Linked DNA regions of Homo sapiens: region 2 is linked to region 1. Evidence: promoter capture Hi-C in 16 types of primary human blood cells and fetal thymus (Javierre and others, 2016). All regions are on one chromosome and are shown on one strand. The core of a region is centred on a gene start or on the middle of the fragment in contact, and the rest is flanking DNA. Distances in the headings are between cores, read along the strand shown.

The links. Contacts are between HindIII fragments. The CHiCAGO score rates a contact against its expected background, and 5 or more counts as called.
Region 2: a contact is called between a fragment that was not itself captured here and the fragment with the promoter of CAB39 in region 1, in 1 of 17 cell types (activated CD4 T cells). The highest score is 5.0, in activated CD4 T cells.

Annotation. Positions count from the first base shown.
Region 1 is chr2:230,711,554-230,714,349 of GRCh38, forward strand. It overlaps CAB39 (calcium binding protein 39), which reads left to right and starts at 1,289. Exons shown (of 9, transcript NM_016289.4): 1 at 1,289-1,677. LOC124907996 (formin-like protein 16) reads right to left here and starts at 1,773. Exons shown (of 4, transcript XM_047446832.1): 1 at 526-1,773. The coding sequence starts at 1,773. The coding sequence ends at 1,015. RefSeq lists a silencer at 1,061-2,000. The HindIII fragment of the contact is 1,861 bases long and covers 1,018-2,796 here.
Region 2 is chr2:230,468,975-230,472,129 of GRCh38, forward strand. SP100 (SP100 nuclear antigen) reads left to right here. Exons shown (of 29, transcript NM_001080391.2): 14 at 69-122; 15 at 1,041-1,124. All of the region lies in intron 3 of LOC101928816 (a long non-coding RNA gene), which reads right to left. Among named protein-coding and RNA genes, the nearest start is that of SP100, 54 kb to the left of the region's middle. The HindIII fragment of the contact is 955 bases long and covers 948-1,902 here.

The sequences.
Region 1 (2,796 bases), core at 39-2,538:
AGCCAGCAGATTCTCGCCTCAGGGCCTTGGTCCTGCTATTCCCTCTGCCTTTCCATACAGAAAGCTCCCAGGCTCTCTCTCTCCAGGAAGCTGCTCCCTGAATGAACACTGTAAATAACAACACCCTGCTTTCTCTCCCCTCCTCACCCAGTGGTGTTTTTAACTGTCCAGTATTTGTTTTTTTGTTGTTGTTTTTTGTTTGTTTTGTTTTTGTTTTTTGGAGATAGTCTCGCTGCGTCGCCCAGGCTGGAGTGCAGTGGCGCGATCTCGGCTCACTGTAACCTCCGCCTCCCGGGTTCAAGCGATTCTCCTGCCTCAGCCTCCTAAGTACCTGGGAATACAGACGCCCGCCACCACGCCCGGCTAATTGTTTTTTGTATTTTTAGTAGAGATGGGGTTTCACGGTGTTGGCCAGGCTGGTCTTGAACTCCTGACCTCGTGATCCGCCCACCTCGGCCTCCCAAAGTGCTGGGATTACAGGCGTGAGCCACCGCGCCTGGCCCAATTGTCCAGTATTATACATACCTGTAGGTTTATTAGTCAATTATTTGTCAACTGTTTGTGCTAGGAGCATGGACTGTTTCGCTCACTGCCCCATCCCTGACGTACAGGAGGCGCTTAAAAAGTAGTTCAGTTACACATTAAAAACAAAGAAACAAAAATACACACATATGGCATTTGTATGTGCCAGGCTCCGTTGTCAGAGCTTTGCAATGCACTGTCCCGTTCATCCTCAGAAGCCCGTGGCTGGTACCACTATATTATTACACACTTTTTTTTTTAATGTGTGAGGAAATCCAGGCACAGGGACGTGAAACAGCCCATAGATAGCAAATGGTGGAGCAGGACTTAAATCCAGGTTGCTGATTTAAATAGGAATATTCCCATTAATCTGGAACGTTCTGGCACTTGTCCCCCTGGATGCTGTGTCCCCCTGGATGCTAAAATGAAGCGATCTGCTCCAAGAAAGTAAGAATCGGTCTGCACAAAGTGGGATCCCGGCCTCTCGCAGAATTAAGCTTGAAGAGTTGAGGAAGTGGTCGTTGAAAGTGGGCGTGCGATTCCCGCAGTAAGAGCGCTCAGGCGGAGGAGAAAGGGCTGAGCCCCGCCTTGGAAGCTGCGGCGGAGGAAGAGGAACTGCGGGGCTTGGCTTCTGCTTTTCTCTGCGGCCCCTCCCGCTCGGGCCTCGCGCCTACTTGCGGCGCCCTGAGTCCGCCGGCCGCTCGGGGGCGCCCGAGGCGGAAGGGGGCGTTGCGGCACCGCCCGACGTCGCGTCCTCGGCGGCTGCGCAGTGCGCACGTCAAAGCCGGGCTCGGGCCGCAAGCGGGGCGAGGGGTTCGGGGAGCGGCGCGGCCTGGGAGACACAGAGCCTTCAGGCGCCGGGGCGGGGGCACAGGCGAAGACTAAGGCGGCGCCGGGCCCCACAGCAGCAGCCGCAGCCCAAGCGAGCGCAGCAGCGCGGCGGCAGCCGCGGGAGCCCCTGGGCAGCCGTCCGCCCGCGCAGCCGCCGCCGCCGCGGGAGCCCGTCGCCGGGAGCAGGAGCGGGCGGAAGACAACGGAGGGGCCGAGCGTCCGAGCCACTCCGCGGGGACCGAACGAGCAGCCCGAAGCGGCGGCGGCCGAGGACGGGGACAGCGACGACGCGGAGGCAGAGAAGGGAACGCCCGGCCCAGCCCCGTGAGTGACCCCCGGCCGGCCCTGCTCGTGGTGCGGACGCCTGCCCGGCTTCCGCCTGCCCCGCTGGGCCCTCACCGGCCCCGGGGCTGCCTCCATTTTCCTGGGTGGCGGCGGCCCCGGCCCAGCTTGTCCCCGGAGCCCCCGGGAGCAGCCGGGCCCAGCCTGCCCTCTCCGCCCGGCTCGGCTCCGGTCCCTCGCTGAGACGCTCCCTTTGCCTTCGCCGGCGTGGGGCGCCCGGGGGCCTGCAGTCCAGGCGCTCCTGCCTCTCCCCCCGTGGTTCTCTGGCGGGGCTGGCGGCGCGTGGTGGTCCGGGCCGGAGTCGGGCGGGCGGGGAAGTGCGGGCCGGGTCAACTGTCACCGGCTGCACCCGGGCTTCAGCGCCTCGCTCCCGCCCCTGGTAAACTTCCTGTTGTCGGGAGGCAGATACCAGCTTTGTGACCAATTCAGGAAAATGCCTAACTGATTTCTGGTTAGGAATTGGGCGGTCGGAGCGTTCTGGAGTTCAATGGAACCACCCCAAGCGCAGACTGCGTGCAGGCGCCGTAGTCGGCCCGCACCGGAGGGATTCAAAGGTGAAGCGGGCCCCGGTCCCCTCCCCCGAGGAGCTTAGGCTCTGGTGTGAGAGATAAGACGAGAACACAAATAACTGCGATACCGGGAAGGAGGTGATAAGTCCTGTGAAAGAACGACGGAGTGCTAGAACGGCACCCGGAAAAACCGAACCGATCACTTCTGCCTCGCAGAAACCTGGAAGGCTTCCTGGGCGGGGGATGCTGAGCAGAGTCTTGAAGGCCTGATGGGATTTAGGAGAGGAGGATTGCAGAAGAGGTGTGTGGAAGGGGTAGCAAAAGCGAGAAGACAAAGCCTAGAAATCATGGATAATTCCGTTTGTTGGCATGGTGCAGGGGGCGGGGGGTATTGGGCTAAAGAGGTATTTTGGGGCCAGATCCTTGAATGCTGTAGAGGAGCTATTTGAGCAGCATTCTAAGAGAAACTTAGAGCTCATTTCTCAGTGACTCATGAGCCCGGAAATGTAGGCTAGGGGATATTAAAGGCGCTCTTGTGAAAGGAGAGAGGAGGAGGCCCAGTCAGGAGTTGACATTCTGTGCCTTGAATGTA
Region 2 (3,155 bases), core at 175-2,674, 240 kb before region 1:
TAAGCAGTCATAAGATTTATAGATCTTTTAGTTAGATATTATTGATTTGGTTTTCCTTTACTTTCTAGCTCCTATGACTTCTAGAAGTACATCTACTTGGAGAATACCCAGCAGGAAGAGACGTAAGAGCAATTAAAAACTCTTGATGTAACAAATGTCTTTATTTGCTGCAAAAGCTACATTCACTTTTTATGTTATATCCTTTAAAATAAAAAATTAATTTGTTGGGATTTTAGATGATTTGCATTTTACATTTTCAATTAGATGAGTTGGGCTGGTATAAAACATAAGCCTCAAAATGTTCAAAGGCACAAGTGCAACATAAGTTTATTTTTCACTCACATAAATAGGATAAAGTAGTTCCTGAGTAGAGGGGGTGCCCACACAGTCATTCAGGGCCCAGCTGATGGGGGCTCTGACATCTTTAAGATGTTGCTTCCATGGTTCCCTTGGATAAGAAACTGAGATGGAAGCAGAAGTATGTGCAAACTAATAATGAAAGCCTAAGAAGCGTAAGAAACAACGTTGTCCTAGGATTGTATTCAGAAAAGATTGAACATTATGTATGTTCCTTTTATTTGATTATGCATGAATGAGATAGGAGAAAACGATGGAAGGATCCACACTGATCTGTTGACTTCACTAGCTGGGAGACCAGAGACAGAATAGGGTAGGAAAAGAGAGCTTTGGGGTTATATACATTTGCATTCATTGGTCTTCTTATGACAAGCATATATTGCTTTCTTAATTTGAAACCACCCAATGAAATGGATGATTTATAATAAATACATATTTTTCCCAAAGTTAAAAAAAAAAAAGAAGAAGAAACAATGTCATCCCCAGCCCCAGCCTCAGAGAGGGCTCCTGGAGCAATCTTGACCAACAGGTCAGATGATCAAAGCCAAAGGGTGGCCTAGTGGTGGGACTATTTCTCCCCCTCCTCCACAAGCTTCTCTTGTTCAGTTTTGCTTTTAAAGAATTCCCTGCTGATTCCTAAGACTCAGACTAAGACTGTTAAGGAATTTTATTTTTTTCTGCAGGTTTCAGCAGTAGTGACTTTTCAGACCTGAGTAATGGAGAAGAGCTTCAGGAAACCTGCAGCTCATCCCTAAGAAGAGGGTCAGGTAAAGAAGATTAGGATGCCAAGACTTGGCCTGCAGAATGTCAGGAATGTGAATTAAAAGCTGCTGTTTCCAGACGCTTTTTATTCTGAGCACCTTCACTACCTTGTATCCAGTTCATCTGGGAACTCCTTTTTGCATTTTAGAAAATGGAAAGAGGCAGGAAATTATGATAAACTCATGTTTAACAGAAAGAGTTTCACTGACTAAATGTATGTAATTATATTTTGTTGTTGTAGAAGAAATAAATAGCAAATTTGTGGTATTCTTTTTTTTAAACCTGCTCTCATTCCTATTAACACTAAGATCTTAGATTTTTATAGTGATAAATGGGTTGACATCATTGTCATTTGTAATTGTAAAGCCTCAAAAGACAACTGTTCCTACTATGTAATTATAGACAGAAATAAAAACTTCAGATCAAACACTCTCAAACGTTAGTATAGTTTTTGGTAGATGTCCTTCATCATGTAATTGGATTATATTGTGTTATTTCAATGTCTTTTGGCAAATAATATCTTATTTTGTCATCACAAAATTTTTAAGACATAGGCAGGCTAACTATACCCATTTTGGGGTGAGGAAATAGATGTACAGAAGTATTAGGGCCAAAAAACTAAAGAAACAATAGAAACTAGCAACCCAGGTGTCTCACGGTGGGTGACTGTTGTATGTAACAGACAGGAGGATAAGAGCTGTGTCATTTAAGTCAAAGTCCAAAGAAGATGCGCAAGGAACTCAGAATATTCACAGGAGACTATACCAGTGCCTGATGCAAGAAAGCTTATTTAACAACCACTGTGTGTGTGTGTGTGTGTACACATGCATATATTTGTTACATATAACATGTATACATACATAAACACACACATATGTGTGTGTATATATGTATATTGGTTAATACATATAATCTTTAGGGGGAGGGAAAAATAAAAATCGCAAACAGACAGAGATAATAGGAATGGAACCAGCTATATAATATACAAAATACCTAGAAAGACAGAAGCAAAATAGATAAACATAGAAATAAAGGAGAACAGAACATCATTGATGGAAACAGAAAAAGCAACACAGGAGACAAGATAAATCAAAGGGAGATGAGCTCACCGAATCAAAGAGACAGAGACAAAAATGTATAGCAGCAGGGCAATGGGCAGAAAAATGAGAAGTGAGAAGGAGAACGAAGTGTGGCCAGATAGAGTAGGGCTATGAGGTGTACTCATTGATATAGGTGTATTTTTTTGTCAGTCCGTTTAAGCTCTGAAAATAGTTCAGCATGACCACATTGAGACAGGTTCCCTGGTTTCCTCGTCACTGTCTATAGTCTATTATTTCCTTGTTTGTCTTCATTGTCCTGTGAATTTAGAGCTCCTCCAATGAATACACAAAGAGAGTCAGAAGAGATGCAGCCCATTAGCTTGTGATGGAGAAGCCGATTATGATGTTCAGTTCATTATTAATTATCTTTTTTTTCCTACTTGCATGGAGGAAAAGTTCTTTTTTCTTTTCCTTACCTCTCCCCCAAAACATATGCACACACACATACACACCACACACACAAAGACTTGTGCACAGACTCGGGCTGCTTGCGACAGGTTTGAGGGAGCGAAAAGAAAAAGAAGAGCTGGGCTCCTGAATGGAGGGAGGAGACACTGAGTGGATAAAGTAAGGAGAAAGAATGGAGAAAGGTAGGCTAGAGTCACCAAATGAAAAGATATAAGAGTCAGCTTCAAGTTTTTCTAAGTGGACAAGGAATTCAAATATTCCAGGTAGGGGAATTTTGTGGGGGAGGGAGGGATAATTTTCAACACACTTCTCAGAAATTGTACCAGAAACGTGAAAATAAAGTTGCTGATTGATTGACAGCCTTGCAAGGTAGAAAGCTCATAAAGAACAGACAAAGGTAATAGAGATGGCTATGTGGTCAGTGTCCTAACAGCAGGCATTTGGTGATGAAAGTAATAACCTGTGAGATAAAGATGAATATAGATGAAGAAAATGTGGATAAAGACAAAGATTGAAATTGCAAAAAGA